Regions from separate parts of the Homo sapiens genome. Here regions 1, 2 and 4 are each linked to region 3. The links are contacts of gene promoters, found by promoter capture Hi-C in blood cells and fetal thymus (Javierre and others, 2016). All regions are on one chromosome and are shown on one strand. The core of a region is centred on a gene start or on the middle of the fragment in contact, and the rest is flanking DNA. Distances in the headings are between cores, read along the strand shown. Region 1 overlaps ATP1B3 (ATPase Na+/K+ transporting subunit beta 3). Region 2 overlaps ATP1B3 (ATPase Na+/K+ transporting subunit beta 3). Region 3 holds the start of RASA2 (RAS p21 protein activator 2). Region 4 overlaps LOC105374134 (a long non-coding RNA gene).

What was found. Contacts are between HindIII fragments. The CHiCAGO score rates a contact against its expected background, and 5 or more counts as called.
Region 1: a contact is called between a fragment that was not itself captured here and the fragment with the promoter of RASA2 in region 3, in 14 of 17 cell types (total B cells, M0 macrophages, total CD8 T cells and 11 more). The highest score is 10.6, in total B cells.
Region 2: a contact is called between a fragment that was not itself captured here and the fragment with the promoter of RASA2 in region 3, in 5 of 17 cell types (M0 macrophages, erythroblasts, fetal thymus and 2 more). The highest score is 6.5, in M0 macrophages.
Region 4: a contact is called between a fragment that was not itself captured here and the fragment with the promoter of RASA2 in region 3, in 3 of 17 cell types (monocytes, M0 macrophages and M2 macrophages). The highest score is 6.7, in monocytes.

The regions. Positions count from the first base shown.
Region 1 is chr3:141,901,013-141,905,974 of GRCh38, forward strand. It overlaps ATP1B3 (ATPase Na+/K+ transporting subunit beta 3), which reads left to right. Exons shown (of 7, transcript NM_001679.4): 2 at 2,608-2,736. It also overlaps the pseudogene RNU6-509P. Among named protein-coding and RNA genes, the nearest start is that of ATP1B3, 27 kb to the left of the region's middle. RefSeq lists enhancers at 3,412-3,912, 3,913-4,413. The HindIII fragment of the contact is 167 bases long and covers 2,329-2,495 here.
Region 2 is chr3:141,919,289-141,924,272 of GRCh38, forward strand. It overlaps ATP1B3 (ATPase Na+/K+ transporting subunit beta 3), which reads left to right. Exons shown (of 7, transcript NM_001679.4): 6 at 2,689-2,775. Among named protein-coding and RNA genes, the nearest start is that of ATP1B3, 45 kb to the left of the region's middle. The HindIII fragment of the contact is 1,083 bases long and covers 1,449-2,531 here.
Region 3 is chr3:141,483,514-141,488,276 of GRCh38, forward strand. It overlaps RASA2 (RAS p21 protein activator 2), which reads left to right and starts at 3,514. Exons shown (of 24, transcript NM_006506.5): 1 at 3,514-3,703. The coding sequence starts at 3,571. RefSeq lists a silencer at 3,423-4,302. The HindIII fragment of the contact is 5,296 bases long and covers 2,329-4,763 here.
Region 4 is chr3:141,856,397-141,861,003 of GRCh38, forward strand. LOC105374134 (a long non-coding RNA gene) reads left to right here. Exons shown (of 3, transcript XR_924551.3): 2 at 2,021-2,184; 3 at 4,488-4,607. Among named protein-coding and RNA genes, the nearest start is that of ATP1B3, 18 kb to the right of the region's middle. RefSeq lists an enhancer at 4,225-4,607. The HindIII fragment of the contact is 1,951 bases long and covers 1,041-2,991 here.

The DNA.
Region 1 (4,962 bases), core at 1,162-3,661, 420 kb after region 3:
CCTCAGGTGATCTGCCCGCCTTGGCCTCCCAAAGTGCTGGGATTACAGGCGTGAGCCACTGCACCTGGCCCATGTTAGTTTCTTTAGTTGGGTAATAAGGAAATTTCTTGAAAGATTTTAAACTAGCTAGGGAACGTTAGTAATATGATAGGTACTATTTAGGCTGTATTTGCTGTTTTCTGCTTACATCAAGTAGCACTGAGGCGGGCATGGCACATTGAATAGGTTCCATGAACACTATCCATGACTAAGTCAGGACGCCGCCATTTAGAGCCCCATCAGCAAACTACATCTGAGTAACTAATTTAACTGCCATTTTACACCTGGGTAAGAGCAGCAATTTACAACTTCTGTTTTTATTTTCTGTTGTTTTTTCTTTTAGGGGGAAGAGGTGGTTGATAAAGTATATTTATATGTGAGACTGACTAGTTTAAGTTTTTAAAAATTAGATTTGGTTCTTGGCAGAAGGATCTTGTTCAAGTAAGGAAAACTCACTTCACTGCTGGAAATAACTTATTTACTTGTTTCTAATGGCCACTAGTATATGGCATCAGATTTGGGACATAGCTGTTGATTTGTGTATATATTGTATGAATGTAATTCTTTATACTCATTATTTTCATTGTGTAATAGTTCCTTAGAAAGCAGATTTGGATATAGTTTGTTCATATCTGCTATATATTTATTTGCTTTATAACTATTTTGTAAATTTAATTTACATTATTTTCCTAGAAATTTAAAATCAAAATGTTCAAAACAGTATTGTAACAAGAATATTTTAAGATGACTTAAAAACACTGCTAAATAATTAAACTCTTAGCAATTTTGTTTCAGACATCTCCACTTTAATGTCAACTGCATGGGTCAACAAACTACTGTGGCCCCAGTCTGCCTATTTTTATAAGCAAAACCTTATTGGAATACAGCCACACTCATTACATTTAAGTTTCTGTCAGCCCTGGTGTAGAGGATTTTATCCCTTCGTTCCTGCAGACACCTAGATCTCAAAGAATTTCTCTTCTGTATCTTATTAAACTGGCCTGTGGGCTTTCTGTGTGTTTCATTTCCCTCTATAGCAAACTGTTTACTTCTTTGAGATTGGTCTTTTCTTTTTCTGCAACAGGATCGCAGTATGTGGTAGGGAAGTGATGCTGTCTGAAGGTGACATCCTGTTCTCCTCTCTTCTGTCCTCTCCATCCTTATTTTGGCCACCTGGTAATTGGGGGGGAGGGGTAGAATGCTAGTCTAAATTATAAAATGAAATTGCTTTAACTATTTCCCCTTTACTTGAAAAAGGGGGTTGGGGGTGATTCCTGCCTTGCAGTTGAGAAATAAAAGTTATCTAGCTTTCAGCACAATCTGTTTTGGGGTCATGGGATCTTTTGAGAATCAGAAGAAAGTTGTGGAGCCACTCCCTGGGGGGAAAATATATTCAGAAATATATTATTACAGAAATGAATCTTTGATCAGTTTTTAAACCTTGAAATACAAGTGACTTTACCAATGTATTCTAATATACTTGTTGGCAGCCACTTCTGATGTTAGAACTTTGAATATAGACATTTGAGAAAAATAATTGATTTTAAGTGTTCCCAAAGTAAATCACTGGTTCAGGATAGATCTATCTTAGTGTTCCCAAATTGTGAAAGGAAAGAGATTAAGCCCTTAATGTTGAAACGTGTGTCTCCCAAATCTTGCTTTGTGCTTAGCAGTAGAGCTATGAAATTCCATTGATCAGAGGGCTTGTTTCTGACCTTGTCCTTTTTTCACTTTTGCACGAGCCCTGCCATTTGACCAGTGTGTCCTAAACTTTATTCATTGAGTGCTGTCTTCATAAGTTGGCCTTATCTGCACATTTCCTGATATTCTTTCAATGAACTCAGTTTTTAAAATATATATTTTTTTAATTTTTTAAATATGGAACGACTCACAAATTTGCATGTCATCCTTGCACAAGGGCCATGCTAATCTTCTCTGTATCGTTCCACTGTTAGTATATGTGCTGCCAAAGTGAGCACCTAATTTTTTTGTAAAGACAAAGTGTTTCCTGGGCTAGTCCCAACTCCTGGGCTCAGGCGATCCTCCCATCTCAGCCTCTCAAAGTGCTGGCATTACAGGTGGGAGCCATTAACTCACTTTTTAAAACTTAAATTTAAGCAAATAATTACTGTCTGTGAAATATGCGTTTCATGTACTAATTCTTTTATATTCGCCACTTAAAGGATCATGTAAATATTGGGGGTTTTGTTTACCTAAAACCATCTTGTATCTTTTTAGAGGGCATCAAGTTCATTTTGGGAAACATTCCCCTATGTACTGGAATTTTAAAGCTTTGATTTTGAACCAGAGTATGAATGGTGGAAGCTGCTTTAACTTGGAAATACCAGGGAAAAGGAGGGGTCATGGGATGGGTGGGTGCTGTCTGCTGAAATACCCCTTGCTTGGGCAAATTTATGTGTCCTGAATATGAGGATATTTGGCTATGTGCATGGCAAAGCTTGGGATCGTACCCTTGCAAGAACAGTTGGTTTGTTTTTTAACCTGGCCAAACATGCATACACACACACACGCACGTGCACATTTCATAAGTTTTATTTTCTTTTACAGGTTTGATCTTGCTCTTCTACCTAGTTTTTTATGGGTTCCTGGCTGCACTCTTCTCATTCACGATGTGGGTTATGCTTCAGACTCTCAACGATGAGGTTCCAAAATACCGTGACCAGATTCCTAGCCCAGGTAATTATCTTGCAGTTATGACTTTGTTTTTTGTTTTTTGTTTTTTTTTTGAGACAGAGTTTCACTCTTGTTGCCCAGGCTGGAATGCAGTGGCATGATCTTGGGTCACTGCAACCTCTGCCTCCCAGGTTCAAGCGATTCTCCTGCCTCCTCAGCCTGCTAAGTAGCTGGGATTACAGGCATGCGCCACCACGCCCGGCTAATTTTGTATTTTTAGTAGAGACAGGGTTTTTCCATGTTGGTCAGGCTGGTCTCGAACTCCCGACCTCAGGTGATCTGCCCCGCCTTGGCCTCCCAAAGTGCTGGGATTACAGGCGTGAGCCACTGTGCCTGGCAGTGGTTACGGCTTTTAACAAAATTGAGTTATAGTTTATCTTCACCATAAATCTGTTTTATATAGCAGATAGAAGATAGCTAAACCTTGGAGCTGAGTAATGTGAAGGTTTTAATTTTTGTTGTTGTTGTTTAATATTTACATACTGATTTAAAGACCTTCACATTTATATACTGATAAATCTTGAGAGTTTGAGTGGGTTTGTTTTGTTTGTTTCGGTTTCTTTTTTTTTTTGTCAGAAGTAAGCAAATGAATATTGAGAATTCTAGTAAAAGCCACGTTTGAAGAATATAGTTATAGTTATGAGTGACTTATGAGTATCGTAGAGCAGTTTTACTTTGCCTTGAGTAATTAAGGTATATATTTTGGCACTAGCTTCAGTTAGAGCTTTGGACTTATAAAATACATACTTTGTCGTTCTAAATGGTTAGTTATGAAATTGGTAAGTTGTTAAATAATGATACCTCATAGAGAACAAAATGAATATACTCTTCATATGTTTAATTCTTCTTGATTTTCTTCTGGAAAAAAAATTCATTATACAGGAGAATGTATGCAGTAAAAAACTGAAACATCTAAACCACATTTTCTACCTCCTGATTTTATTCTTTTTAAACAGTCTTTTTTTTTTTTTTTTTTTTTTTGAGACAGGGCTTTGCTCCTGTTGCCTAGGCTGGAGTGCAATGGTGTGATCTCGGCTCACTGCAACCTCTGCCTCCCGGGTTCAAGCGATTCTCCTGCCTCAGCCTCCCAAGGAGCTGGGATTACAAGCATGTGTCACCACGCCCAGCTAATTTTTTGTATTTTTAGTAGAGACGGGGTTTCACCACGTTGGCCAGGCTGGTCTCGAACTCCTGACCTCAGGCGATCCACCCGCCTCGGCCTCCCAAAGTGCTGGGATTACAGGGGTGAGCCACCACACCTGGCCTAAACAGTCTTTGAATGCCAGCTCTCCCTTGGTGACTGGACATGACCCTTGTCCTCAGATGCTGATAATTAGAAAAGTAAGAAACAGTAATGTGCAGAACTTCAGTGTGTATAATTCCAAAGACTGTAAACTAACTGCTATAGATGACAGAGAAGGGAAGGTTCTACCTAAAGAAGAAAGTTCAGTCCTAGAGGAGTGGGATTTAGAGGGCAGGAGAGTGGGGAATCGGGCCAGGAAGGTGGGAGTCTAGCAGGTTTCTCTCTAGAGCAGTGGTTTTCAACCACTGAGTCATATGGCAGCGTCTGGAAATATTTTTGGTTGTTACAGCTAGAGAGGTGGTACTGTGAATAGAGGCCAGGGATGTTGCTAAACATCCTACAGTGCATAGGGCAACCCCCACAACAAAGAATTATTCAGCCCAAAATGCCAATAATGCTGAGATGGAAGTGCCCTTATCTAGATCCTTGCTCACTGTATAGACTTCTGAGCTATATCACCAGCCAAACTGAACTAATTGTCTCAACCATTTTTTTTCCTAGAACAATTTTTTTCTAATGATTTCTTTTGTTTACAGCTAATCTTAGTCTAAATGTCTTGAATAACTCTTTTAAAACTCTTAGTGTATTGGAGCAAGTGTCAGAGATTAGTTCCATGCTACTTTTCCTTCATCTCTCATTGTAGCACTGTTTTTTTCTACCTCAGACTAATTCTAAGATTATTCTTTACTTGCTATTTAAGTGATGTGACTTACCATTGAACATAGTCTGATCTATTCAAAAACACTGAACTCTGTTTATAATTGCATGAAATATATAAGCATATGTGTTAAATATTTTTAAGTACACAGTTTTTAAACTGAGTTTCTTAAAATTATTTGTCGATTATTTTAGTACTTAAAGTATCATTAGTTTAAATAAATATACATGCATACACATGTACATATAATACATATATATTACATATG
Region 2 (4,984 bases), core at 740-3,239, 430 kb after region 3:
CTCTCTCTCCATAGAGACAGGGTGTCACCATGTTGCCAGGCTGGTCTTAAACTCCTGGCCTCAAGCAATCCACCCACCTCCGCCTTTGAAAATGCTGGAATTACAGGTGTGAACCACCGCAGATGGCCAAGGTGGCCTTTTATATTATCAACTTAAAAGATGATCCTGCAAAAGATGTAATTTTCATATTTATGTCATTTTTTTCTCAGTGTTTTATTTTCTTATGAAAATGAATCATACTAAGAAAATCAAAAAATGGGAAGAAACAAAATGCATTAATTTTTAAACTCCATTTTGTTTCAGTGGAACTTAGTGACCATCAGTAGGTTCTTAGAGTTAGTTGCTCATAGTTTACAATATGATGCTATTGCCGGACGCGGTGGCTTTCACCTGTAATTCCAGCACTTTGGGAGGCCAAGGTAGGCGGATCACCAGAGGTCAGGAATTCGAGACCAGCCTGGCTAACATGGTGAAACCCCATCTCTACTAAAAATAAAAAAATGAGCCTGACGTGGTGGCATGTGCCTGTAATCCCAGCTACTCGGGAGGCTTAGGCAAGAGAATCGCTTGTACCCAGGAGGCAGAGGTTGTAGTGAGCCATGATCGCGCCACTCCACTCCATCCTAGGCAACAGAGCAACTCTGTCTCAAAAAGAAAAAAAAATATGCTATTCGTATACTTAGAAAATTATGACATACATGCTTCACCCTGAGTACCTCATTATTATTCAGATACTCATTTTAATATTTTACAATTTCTAAATGTTTATTTTCACAGAAGGTATAAATTAAAAGATTAAGAAAAATCCTGCCAAGATCACGTCTTAGGCACACACAGAGAGCAGTTGAGCGTCTGCCACACCTGATGGTCTTGAGCCGTGATGGCCTTAACTCTGAGCCCCAGTGCCCTGCTCCGTAATTGATGCTGTCCACTAAGGCTTGTTAGGCCTAAAGGAGGGAAGTGTAAGCTAAGTGTGGTATCTGGTAGGAAACCCACTCTGGGTTGGGTGTGGTGGATCACTTGAGGTAAGGAGTTTGAGACCAGCCTGGCCAACATGACAAAACTCCGTCTCTACTAAAGATACAAAAATCAGCCCTGCATGGTGGCGCACACTTGTAATCCCAGCTATTCAGGAGGCTGAGACAGGAGAATCGCTTGAACCCGGGAGGAGGAGGCTGCAGTGAGCCAAGATCAGGCCATTGCACTCTGGCTTAGGCAACAGAGTGAGACTCTGTCTCAAAAAAAAGAAAAAAGAAAAAAGAAACATACTCCAAGATACTCAGTAAACTGTTTCTCAAAAAAAATCCTTTTTTTCATTTTGCGGAAATGTGTTCTGTGAAGGTCATATATTAAGGTAAAATAGGTTCAACAAAAGCAATTAATGCAGAAAAGCACTGATATCAGAGTGACTAGTTTTTCTCTAATATAAAATGTTATCTTTGATTTTAAGCTTATTTTTTAAGTTAAAGAGTACAAATGTAGGGTGGAGTTTGAGTAGTGATTGAAAATGGCTTTTGCGATTTCTCCTAGCGTTGTTACTTCCTACCCTTTCCACATATTCATCATCTGGATCATTAGAGCTTGTCTGGTGGGTGGGGCGCATCATCACTCTGTCCTTTGTGCTGTCTGGCCGGTGCCTTTCATCTGTCTCTCACCCCACCCCACAGCCATATGCTGCTTCATAATGAAATGAAATGAGCAGAATCTAGAACTCCTTAGAGTGGATTCTTAGTTTTGCTTTATGCTGTTTCATGCATGCTTTCAACCCTGTCTCAAAAAAATTTTTTTATATATATATAAAATTCAAGTATTTAATAATGTTTTATTTTAACTAGTGTTCCGTAAGCCCAGCACTGATTTTAATCATTGTGGTCTGTTTGCTACTTCTCAGTCTGTGTTAAAGTTACACTCATTAGAATTAGGCCCATTTAGAAAGTGTTACATGTGAATTTTCATAAATTGCTTATTTATCATGAATAATACTAGAAATAACTAATAGCATGAATTAATTGGATTACAGGTGATGCTTGATTTGTATGTTGATAAACATGGAATTCTAGTAGACAAGTAATACTTAATGATTTATATATGCTCATAAATTTATTCCTGATACAGTATTTAAATTTGTCGAGGAGAGTTTTGCTTGTAGTACCTTAAATTTTCCTTCATGCTTCCCCTCTGGTTGCAGTTCTGGTTATTAATCACATGAAACTCACACCTGCTGTCTCCCAGGCCTGAGTGCTGCATTCTAGGTTGGCACCTTGTGGTGGCTGTTGCTTTCCAGTCTGGAAGCACAGCATTTTATTCATTTCAGGAAAACATCGGTCCTAAACCTGCTGGTGCATTCCTGCTGTTAGTAGGTAGAAAGGCTGGCATTTGGTATTTGGAGGGCAGATAAGATTTTACAGGAGTACATGAGTTAAAGAAGGGACTCTCATGAAAGAGAGTATAGAGTGTATCTGGAAGTGTAAGTATCAGGATAGTTCATGTGGAAGGGGTTAGTTAGATAATATTTGCAATCAAGATGAGCAAGCTTCTTCTCAGAAATACACTTGTAATGATAATATAGTTGGAGCAGCATTGTAGTTTCTGCAAACTGTTCATGATTGATATTCCTTTAATTATAAACATAGTTTTTACAAATTCTTTTTGTGACCTAAAGAGGATTTCTTTTGTTTTCAACTTCAGAATGAAGATATACCAAATGTAGCAGTTTATCCTCATAATGGAATGATAGACTTAAAATATTTCCCATATTATGGGAAAAAACTGCATGTAAGTATTGAGAAGTTCTTATGTGGTGATTACTCTTTTGGGAAGCTGGAGCATGTGTTGACGTACCACTTGTCTGGGGTAGGTAGACGCCAGCCCTGTTTAATTTGTGCGTCATCTATTCAGGTTTTGTTTTATTTTAATGGTGATGGTAAATGGAGTTCCCACATTTACAATTCAGAACACAGAACCCAAGCAGATACGTTAAAGTTAGATGATTATTTCTAAAATATCATTTTCTTTTTCATTATAGAGGTAGTAGTAGGTGCTTATGTAGAGAAAGTAGAAAAGTACTTAAAAAGAAAATCAAGGCCGGGTGCGGTGGCTTACTCCTGTAATCACAGCACTTTGAGAGGCCAAGGCGGGCGCATTACCTGAGGTCAGGAGTTTGAGACCAGCCTGGCCAACTTGGCGAAACCCCCTCTCTACTAAAAATACAAAAATTAGCTGGGCGTGGTGACATGTGCCTGTAGTCCCAGCTACTCGGGAGGCTGAGGCAGGAGAATCGCTTGAACCCAGGAGGTGGAGGTTGCAGTGAGCCAAGATTGTACCACCACACTCCAGGTTGGGTGACAGAATGGGATTCTGTTTCCCCCACCAAAAAAATAAATGAAAAGAAAATCAAGGCCAGGCGCAGTGGCTCACCTGTAATCCCAGCACTTTGGGAGGCCGAGTCGGGCAGATCACGAGGTCAGGAGATCAAGACCATCCTGGCTAACACGGTGAAACCCCGTCTCTACTAAAAATTACAAAAAATTAGCTGGGCGTGGTGGCAGGCACCTGTAGTCCCAGCTGCTCGAGAGGGTGAGGCAGGAGACTGGCATGAACCTGGGAGTCGGAGGTTACAGTGAGCCGAGATTGTGCCACTGCACTCCAGCCTGGGCAACAGAGCGAGACTCTGTCTCAAAAAAGAAAAAAAATCAAAAGCTCATTGCGGCCGGGTGTGGTGGCTCACGCCTGCAATCGCAGCATTTTGGGAGGCCGAGGCGGGCAGATCACCTGAGGTCAGGAGTTCTAGACCAGCCTGACTAGCATAGTGAAACCCCGTCTCTGCTGAAAATACAAAAATTAGCCGGGCATAGTGGTGGGTGCATGTAATCCCAGCTACTCGGGAGACTGAGGCAGGAGAATCGCTTCAACCTGGGAGGCAGAGATTGCAGTGAGCCAAGACTGCACCATTGCACTCCAGCCTGGGCAACAAAGCAAGACTCTATCTCAAAAAAAAAAAAAATAGGTTAGTGGACTAATGAGTTATCATAGGAGTGGGACTAGCGGCTTTATAAGAAGAGGAAGAGAGACCTGAGCTAGCAGGTTAGCATGCTCAGCCCCCTGGCCACGTGATGCCTTGCACCACCTCAGGACTCTGTTGAAAGTACCCAGCAGCAAAGAAGGTTCTCACCAGATGCAGCTCCTTGATCTTGGCCTTCTCAGCCTCCATTAACTGTAAGAAATAAATTCCTTTCTTTATAAATTACCCAGTTTCAAGTATTGTGTTATAAGCAACAGAAAACAAAGACAGTAGTACAGTTAACAAAGGAAGTTAACATATAGTGCTCTTATGAATCTGTAGACTTTGTTGAAAATCCATCAATTGTTCCAGTAATACTCTTTATAGTGAAAGACAAGTGTTTTCCTGATCCCAGATGTCACACTGTTAACACGTTTAGCAACCTATAATCAGGAATATTTCCTCAGTCTGTTTCATGGCTTTGTACTCTTCAAAAATAAGTACGGGCCTTTTATGGCTTATTTTATGTTCATTAGTTGGAGTTTGGTGGTTTTTCATGATTAAATATAGGTTGTGCATTTTGGCATGAGTGCCTCAAAAGAAATGTTGAGTTCTCAGAGTGTCAGGAGGGACATGGTATCATTTCATTCCGTTAATGGTGATACTGCCTTGATTCCTTGGTTAAGGTGGTATGAGCGAGGTTTCTACAATATACTTTTTTTCCTCTGTCATCAATAAGTATCATGTGGGGAGAAAATTAAAAAGCTCGTTACTGCCTGGCACGGTGGCTCACGCCTGTAATCCCAGCACTTTGGGAGGCTGAGACAGGCGGATCACCTGAGGTGGAGAGTTCGAGACCAGCCTGACCAACATGGTGAAACGCTGTCTCTACTAAAAATACAAAAATTAGCTGACCGTGGTGGCACACTCCTGTAATCCCAGCTACCCAGGAGGCTGAGGCAGGAGAATCACTTGAACCAGGAA
Region 3 (4,763 bases), core at 2,264-4,763:
GCCATAAAGCAAGCCAATGTATGGGTTGAAATGACTGAATGAGTTTAAAACTGGTGAAGAAATAGGAAAAGACATAGTAGTGAATGGTTGCTCATCAGAACGAAGAGTGGTAGGGATAGAAGGGATGGCCTTTAAACACATTCATTAATAATTTGAGGAAGGAAGTGAAGTTCAAGTTTGTGATGATGCAATATTGTTCCAGTTACTAAACATCATGAAGAAAAGAGAGGAACTCTAGATGAATTTAAAACATAATGCAAGGGCAATAAGGGGAATGAGATGTAACAGCCTTCTCGTAATTATACTGTATGTCTTGTTAGTCTTTAGAAAACTTTATTTTCGGCCGGGCGCGGTGGCTCACGCCTGTAATCCCAGCACTTTAGGAGGCTGAGGCTGGTGGATCACGAGGTCAGGAGATCAAGACCACAGTGAAACCACGTCTCTACTAAAAACACAAAAAAAATTAGCCGGGCGCAGTGGCGGGCGCCTGTAGTCCCAGCTACTAGGAAGGCTGAGGCAGGAGGATGGCATGAACCCGGGAGGCGGAGCTTGCAGTGAGCCGAGATCGCGCCACTGCATTCCAGCCTGGGCAACAGAGCAAGACTCCATCTTAAAAAAAAAAAAAAGAAAAGAAAGAAAGAAAGAAAACTTTATTTTCCAAATATTTTATATTAAGGAAACATTGACATTACCCAAGATCTCTTCAAAGTAGGCAAGTATCAGTAAAAACAGAATAATTAGAAGTGACTTCGGATGAAAAAGCAATGGAGTTTGGGGATTTTAGTGAAACGGTATAAGTCCGAAATCTGCAAAAGGAAGACTGTCTGGAAGAACAAAAAAGTGGAGTGTCCCTTTATGTAAAATTGTTTTCATACCTTTAGTGACCATTTAGTAACAGAGTTATGCACTTGGGGTTAAGCTAGTGAAAAGGAAGGGAAGTTAGAAGATTTTGACACTAATGGACAAAGATATTGATACTTTGTCCATTGGATACGTTTGTCCATTGGATACATTTGTCCATTTGTACATTGATACTTTATCCATGGATACATTTGTCCAAAGGTTCAAATAATTTCTCTGTTTATTGGAGAAAGAAATAGATGGATGAGGCATCGCTTGGCCAAGCAGGAGGAAGGCCAGAATCAGGCTGGTGAGAAAAGGGGCTCAGTGTGGCTGGAGATCAGAGGAGTCAGGTACGCTGGATCCAGTTCCAACTCTTGGCTGAAGAATTTGAACTTTAGTCATTTCTAGCATTGTTCATTACCTGTAGTGTGCTCTTGCTAGCTGGCTGAAGGGATAAATGAAGCCACTGATGTCCTCTTGAGCAGGCAACTGATAAGCTCCATTTTTTTTGTTAGGAAAGTTAATTTAAGTGGTATGTAGGAGGAATGAGAGGGATGGGGGACTTATTACCAGAGTTCCAGTCAAAAGCATGAGGTCAGTTACTGAGGTAATCCTACTACGTGCTCAGCATTCCACTAGACACTTAACACCCTGCTCCCAATACTTATTTAATCTTAATAACAACCCTTCAAAGAAGAAAGTTTAGCATTTCCACTTTACTGTTAAAGAAACAGGTTCAACCGGGCGCAGTGGCTTACACCCAGCACTTTGGGAGGCTGACGCGGATGGATCACTTGAGCCCAGAAGTTCAAGACCAGCCTGGGCAACATGGCAAAACCCCATCTCTACCAAAAATACAAAAATTAACTGGACATGGTGGCGCGCACCTGTAGTCCCAGCTACTTAGGAGGCTGACATGGGAGGATAGCTTGAGCCCAGGAAGTTGAAGCTGCAGTGAGCTGAGATCGTGCCACTGCACTCCAGCCTAGGCAACAGAGCAAGACTGTCAAAAAAAAAAAGAAAGAAAGAAAGAGAAGAAACAGAAACAGGTTTAGGAAGGTTGAGTAACTTGCCCAAATGTAAAAGGGGTAGAAACAGGCTCTATGTCTGATTCTAAAAAGGGATGCCTTTAAAAATAAGGGGGAAAAAACCCTGTAACACGTTGATACTCTTTAAATGAGAATAATTTTAACAAGGGCAATGACAGAGAATGGAAAGGAAGGAAGAGATTTCAGCAGAGTCAGAAGGATGTGGCAACTGAAAACAGCATTGGGACAAGGGATAAGAAAAAGTCAAAGTTTCTGGCCTGAGTAACAGTATAAGATGTGAACTCAGATTTGGAAAGGGAGACAGGAAATTAAGTTTTGGACTTATGTTTGAAATGACAGCAAAACATTCATATAAGAGGAAGTGGTTCACTTTATCCAACAAGTGTAAAGATCACATGGGGAAATAGAAGTCACCTGCAACACAGGCAGAACTGGAAGCTTCGCTGGCCAGGTCCATGTTAAACTCTGACCATTCTCTGGGGCTGTCCAGCCTTTGCACAGGCGGCGCGTTTGTCTTCAGTTTTCAGGTTTCCCCGTCCTATTTCTTATCTCCCAGTGCCTCTGGCCTTTTCTGTGTCTCCCTCCAGAATGAGCTGGAGCTCTCTTCATCTTGACCTTTGTGTAGTCTCTGAGGTCTGAGGCCATCACTATGTCTGACCCTCAAAAAATATTTGTTGACTGACTGGCTTATTCCTGTTGTTGCCCTGGAAAAGAATTACCCTGCCCGATTAAGTCACAGTTTCTTCCTTCTTAGGGCAGCGTAGTTAACAACCTCAACACCAGGAAATTGTCTTCCTCATCACATACCAGGGTATTATTCATGCAGTTTACTCACTGTAAAGAGTTCCCTTGAAATAAAGCTAACAATTAGTCAAAGATTTACACATTTCCTAGGGTCAGTCAACTTTTTAACAAAGCCAACTTTTAGTAGTGGTGGCGGTGGCGGGGGGGAGCCCTTCTTTGCTTTTTCTGTTCCTGAAATACAAAAGTGATGGTAAATGCTTCAGAATTTCTCTATGAGAGGGTCTCAGGCACTGCACTCACGCTGGAGTTGGGGGTGGCTGGTCCTTTTCTTGAACCAGGTTTTGCAGAGAATTGGTCCTAGTAAAGAGTATTTGTGTGGGAGGAGTTTGGCTTGCTGGCGGGGAGTATTTGGATAATACTGGAAGAGCCTCAAATGCATCTCTTGCCTCCTTTTGAATAAGATACTTTTGAGGTCCACCCACCTGCCAAATTCCATTCTATTTTCTTCCCACAGGGAGTTTCCCTGATTGGGAAGGGCCTGTATTTCCCGCGAGCGTTAGGAGATGTGCAGGTCTATTCATTGGGGGAGCCCAATTCCCGGGAGGATTTAGGGATCACGGGAGGGCCGGGGCGTTCTCCTGGTGGGGATTTTAAGGCCGCTCAGAGCCACGACTGGGAGCTACCCTTAGCCAGCGCCCCAAGCCGGGAGTACGGTTCTCTGCAGGGTAGCCCGGCTCGGGGGTGGCGAAGGCGGTGAATGGAGACCCGGGGGGGGCGGGGGCGGGGCCGCGGCGGGCGGGGCGGGGCGGGGCGAGTCGGGCCGAGGCCCGGGGGCGGGGCCAGGCGCGCGGCTGGCCTGGGCCTAGGCCGCTGCTGGGCTCCGCCTCGCCCGGCTACGCAGGCGGCAGGGCTGCGGCACGGGCCGGGCGGCACCATGGCGGCGGCGGCGCCTGCTGCTGCGGCGGCTTCTTCCGAGGCGCCAGCGGCGAGTGCGACTGCAGAGCCCGAGGCCGGGGACCAGGACAGTCGCGAGGTTCGAGTGTTGCAGAGCCTGCGGGGCAAGATCTGTAAGCGGGGGCTGGGCTGAGGGGACGCCCTGGCGGCGCTGGGCGCGAGGCTGAGGGGGCGGCGGGTTCGCGGCGGTGGCGGCGCCGAGCTGCGCTGGGATCGCGGGCCCGGGAGGGGGCCTGGGCCGGGCGCGGTTGAGGCTGGAAGGGGGTGTGTTGGGGGGCGGCGTCGCCTCGACGGGGCGGCGTGGGCCGGGGCTGCTGCTCTCCGGAGGGAGTGGGAGCTGGAGATGGGCCTGGGGTGGGAGAGCCCGGGCTGCGCCGGCGTGAGGGGCTCGGTCGTGGGGAGCGGCCTGGACGCGGGGACGCTGGAGTCCGGGGCGCGGCCGGGGGCGCGGTCCGGGGGCGTGAGGAGCTTCCGGCCGCCCTCAGACTCAGGCCTTCGCGCGGCTGCGGGCGCTGGGGAGTGGCCCCGCGGTGGGAGCCGAGCAGTAATTATACGGAGGCGCGGCCCGAGGAGGTGGCGGGCTGGGAAGTGGGGCTGGCCCGAGGGGAGGGGGCTGTTCGTTTCCTGGGCTCGGCGAGCCTGGGAGAGGTTGAAAAAGGCGCCCTGAGCTGCAGGAAACGGGCCGCCCTGGGGCCCGAGTGGCTACCGCGCGGTCTGTTCGCGGGTGAGCGCCCCGGGAGGAGCTCGGCGGGACACCTGTACTTGCCCCACCTCGCTGCGGCCGGGACTTGAATCGAGGGACGGCGTGACAGGCGGGACTAAAGGCAGGATGTAGTGGCTTCCTGTGAGCAGGTCTCAAAACACAATCACCCAGCCCGCACTCAGCCCGCTTAATTCCCTTCCTTCTCATGCGTGTAATTGCTACTTTAGTGAGCGAGCCTACCAGTTGACTAAATACGAAATTTTGCTCAGAGTTGTCCGAGCATTACTGTGGACAGATTATTTGAGTTCTGTCATTTGAACATTTTAGTTTTAAAAACGACCCTTTGGTGTCAGGTTGCCATTTTTTTTTTCACAGTGGTTTATTTAGATGAAGTGCTTTTTGTTTTCTGTTTGTAAGAGAGATCAATAACATTTATTTTTGCATTTGTCGAAAATTAGCATTATTTTCTT
Region 4 (4,607 bases), core at 766-3,265, 370 kb after region 3:
GAATTTCTGAGCTCAAAAGATCCACCCGCCTTGGCCTCTTTGGTGCTGGGATTACAGGCATAAGCCATCATTCCTAGCCCTATTGTCCCATCATCTTAACAGTAAATATTTGTTAACTCAATGACTATTCCCAAATGGGTTATTTTTATTTTTTAGAGACAATGTCTCATTGTGTTGCCCAGACTGGTCTCAAACTCCTCTGAGCTGAAGTGATTCTCCTGCCTCAGCCTCCTGAGTAGCTGGAACTACAGGTGTGTGCCACCACAGCCTGGCACCAAATAGATTGTTAATCACTGAAGGTGTGCAACTAGTTCTTTATCTGACCTACACAGTGTGTTGGCTTGAAGGGGCATGAGCTGGTGAAGCAGTTTGGCTGTTTAAGTGAACAATGATGATTTTGGGGTGATTCTTTCTAAGAGCTAACATTGCCTGTGGCCCCCTGTTCTTTGGATTGCTACAAGAAGGGACAAATCAGATTTCTGTTGTACACAGTGATGTACTGTGCCGCTCTCAGGCAGACTGTGGCTGTCATCCTGCCTATCTGTCTTATGTTTTCTCCCCTTTTAATCATTTCTAGGGACTTACTGAGTCCAGTGACTTTGGTTCCTGTGCTTTTGTTTCCCCATGTGAAGAATTCTACTAGGATTAATAATTTCATTGGGGAACGGACACGGTGGCTCACACCTGTAATCCCAGCACTTTGGGAGGCCGAGGTGGGCAGATCACGAGGTCAGGAAGTTGAGACCATCCTGGCCAATCTGGTAAAACCCTTCTACTAAAAATACAAAAATTAGCTGGGCATGGTGGCACGTGCCTGTAATCCCAGCTATTCGGGAGGCTGAGGCGAGAGAATTGCTTGAACCAGGGAGTTGGAGGTTGCAGTGAGCCGAGATCGCGCAACTGCACTCCAGCTAAAAAAGAAAAAAAAAATCATTAGGGATATCGTAAGAAAGACTTTGAACATCAAAAAAGAAAAATGATTGTAGTTGATTGAAACACATCAAATCTCCAAAAATCCAAAGTCTATAACAGTAAGAGAAAGCTTGTGTGTCACCATTTGAAACAACTGTTTACTTTGAAAGTGGATAACGAGGGAGAAGTAGGCATTTATCCTGCCTTTGCAGTAGCAACTCTACTGCAGAAACCAAAATAATCCCAGATGACAGGGGAAAACTCTACATTTATACATTTATAGGTTACATTTACATTTATACCGTTACTTTACACTGAAAGAATCATTTGTAGTACCTAAGGAAATTATCAATTCAGGCAAGGATTATCAGTTGACCTTAAAGCTCTAAGAATGGGAAACTGGTTACTGATGCTGTACCAAAGTTATACCACTTGGGTCACTTTCTGGTCATAGGAGATGAAAAACATAACTATATGATGGAGGCCTGGTCTCTTAAAAAAATCAGTGTAATAAGACAGTTAAATAATAATAATAATAATTAAATAGAATATGAGGTTCTGGGTTAGTTCATGATCTGTACAAACCAGCTATAAAGGACATTTGGAAGCCAAATGAAGAAATTTGAGTATGTATTAAGTATTAGATAATATTAAGAAATTGGGCCGGGCATGGTGGCTCGCGCCTGTAATCCCAGCACTTTGGGAGGCCAAGATGGAGGAATCACAAGGTCAGGAGATTGAGACCATCCTGGCTAACACGGTGAAACCCCATCTCTACTAAAAATACAAAAAATTAGCCGGGCATGGTGGCACAAGCCTGTAGTCCCAGCTACTTGAGAGGCTGAGACAAGAGAATCGCTTGAACCCTGGAGGCAGAGGTTGCAGTGAGCTGAGATCGTGCCACTGCACTCCAGCCTGAGCAACAGAGCAAGACTCCGTCTCAAAAAAAATAAAAAAAGAAATAAATGTTAATTTTGTTAGATGTGAAAATGTTATTTTGGCTATATAGGAAGACATTTAACTCTTTAGAAATGCATACTGGAGAATTTAAGACTGTATCAGGAGATTACAAGAGATTTATTTCTCCCTCGCTCCATCACCATCCCAGGTCAGCTGTCACTCTCCTTGTTATCTGCAGTCTGGTGTGCAGGCTGAAGAAACAGCCCTGTGTGGGACACTGCTGGTCTTCTGGTAGAAAGAAAAGAAAGATGATGGAATCACACTGTGATTCAGATTGTGGGCTGCACTTCCACTTACGTTTTATTGGCTAAAGTAAGTCACATGGTAAAGTCTTGTATCAGTGGGGGTAATTTTCCCACAGGGTTGGGCAGTAGGATTATTTAGAAGTCAGTGACAAGGAGGACAAAGCATCTCAAACACTGAGAAATAACAAAATTGTTTATCAGGAAGAAAATTATAATGTTAAATCCAGATGTTAAAAAGCAAGAAAGATTGAAAATGAGTGAACTTAGCTTTCAACTCTAGAAACTAGAAAATAACAAATAAACCAGAGAAGGTAGAAGGAAGGAATTAATAAAGATAAAACAGATAATATGAAATAGAAAACCCAACACAATAATTTGATGTTTTAACAAGCTCAAAACATAGAAAGCCTTTGGCAAGTATGAACTAGGAAAAAAAACAAAGAAAGAAAGAAAGAAAGAAAAAAGACACTATAACATCAGAGAGGAAAACAGAATGCAGAGATTTCAAATTTTTTAAGTGCTATGTGCAGCTTTATTCCAATGAATTTGAAAATCCAGACCATGGAGAATGGCTTTCTAAAGAAATATAAATTACCAAAATTGACTCAAGGAACAGAAAGCCTGAACTTATCAATAGTAATATAAGAAATAGTCAAAGATCTACCTTCAAAAAAGAAAACAAGTCCACATGGTCCATAAGGCAAGGTTCTACCAAGAGTTCAAGGAGGAGATAAACCCCACATAATGTGAAAGATGGAGAGTTTACCAAGAGCAGACTATCACTTTGCAGCTACAGATGCTGTATAACGAAGGTCTGGTCCATATAAATTACCAAAATTGACTCAATGGGGATGACCACAATTCTGAATTCCTAAGCTTTTGATCTCATGAAAACTAAAACAGGAGCCTTGACCAGAATGGTTGTTACAGCAGGTTCACATATTGAATGTTTGCACTTGTTGTTCATATGACATTGATAATAAGTTTCCTTTTGCTTATGTTACGAGGTGTTAGGTGATAGTACAGTTTATTTGGCCCATCTTTTTTGTGTTCCTGTTGGCTGATGCAATTCAATGTTAACAATTAAGTTATTTTCAGTGAGATTCAGGGCATTCAACAAATTAATAATTCAGGTGTGAATTTTTCTGCTTATTAAAAACTTTAAAAAATTAAGGTAAAGTTAAAATCTATGCCCTAAGTGAAAATATGAACACTCTTATACTTTGTTAGGCGAGTGGACAAGTGATTCTATGCCAAGGACATCTGAGATATATGGGAATGACTCAGGCATAGGAGTTTTGGACTCCAGGTCAGGCGAATCTAGTTACCGGAGGGGACAGAGAACAACCGCCTCACTGAGAAACTGGGAGGGGACTGTAATTACCAGGGACTTAGGAACAGAGCAGGGGTCAGCCAGGAACAGGAAGGTAAGGCAGACACCAGTTACTATAAACCTGGAAACTAAGGCCAAGGCAGTGGCAGGATAGAGTCAAACCAACCCTATCCTAAGCATTGACCCCAGTGTTGAAGGAAATGCTGAGCCTGGAGAGGAGGTGGGGATAGTTAAGAGACAGCCAAATTTCCAAGTCACATTTATTGCACCAGACATATTAACTGCTTCCTCAGAATCTCAATTCCTGCCAGAAAAGACTGACAGACTACTGCTATGAAAAGAAGACCCCTTTATTTCCTGGGTCCCTGGGAAAAAAATGATGAAGACAACAAGCCTTTTGTTTGGTGTGTGCACCCGCCTTCTAACCCTGAAGTTAACCCCAGAAATCAAAACACATTCACTTTAGAACACTGGCACATCTAAGAAGCCCAAAGTGCCTGAAGGGCATCATATAACTAAGCCCCCTTTACAAAGACTTGGCAAGTCAACACTTTGTTCTAACTTCCAAAGTAACAGTTTGAGGATCAGTTCTACATGTAAATCTGGGAACCACAAAAGGAAGTTAATCTCTGCTAGTACCAGCCTGTTGGAGACAGTCCATCCCCAAAGGCCACAGGCAGCAAGTGGCTGTGTCAGCTCAGAAGCCATACTCTTGGGGAATGTCCCACAGAACACAACACGAGGCCAAGATGCAGGCTGAAGCTAGGATTTGAGTTTCTTGGTGGCCAACTTTCATTTGTCATAGAAATAACATCCCACCTTTGTACTGTACTGCCATTTCCTCCCTCAGCACTATGTATAAGACTCCTGTTAAAATGTTTACTGTGATTTTGAGTTGAATCCTGGTGAGAATCAAAGGACATTTTACTTCCTATCATTTTCCAAATTGAGTCCCCAGGCCTGCTATTGTCTTTCTCAAGTTTTCCAACTTGGCCTCCCTTTTTCAGTTCTTCTCTCACTTTCTACCTTTACTTTAGGTGTGCCTGCCCTCAACCCGGGACACTGGAGCTAGCACCAAAGCCTACACGGAGAGGATCAGGACATCCTGTTGAGCACCAGAACATTTCCTTCCTCAAGAAAAGGAAATACAAATGGAT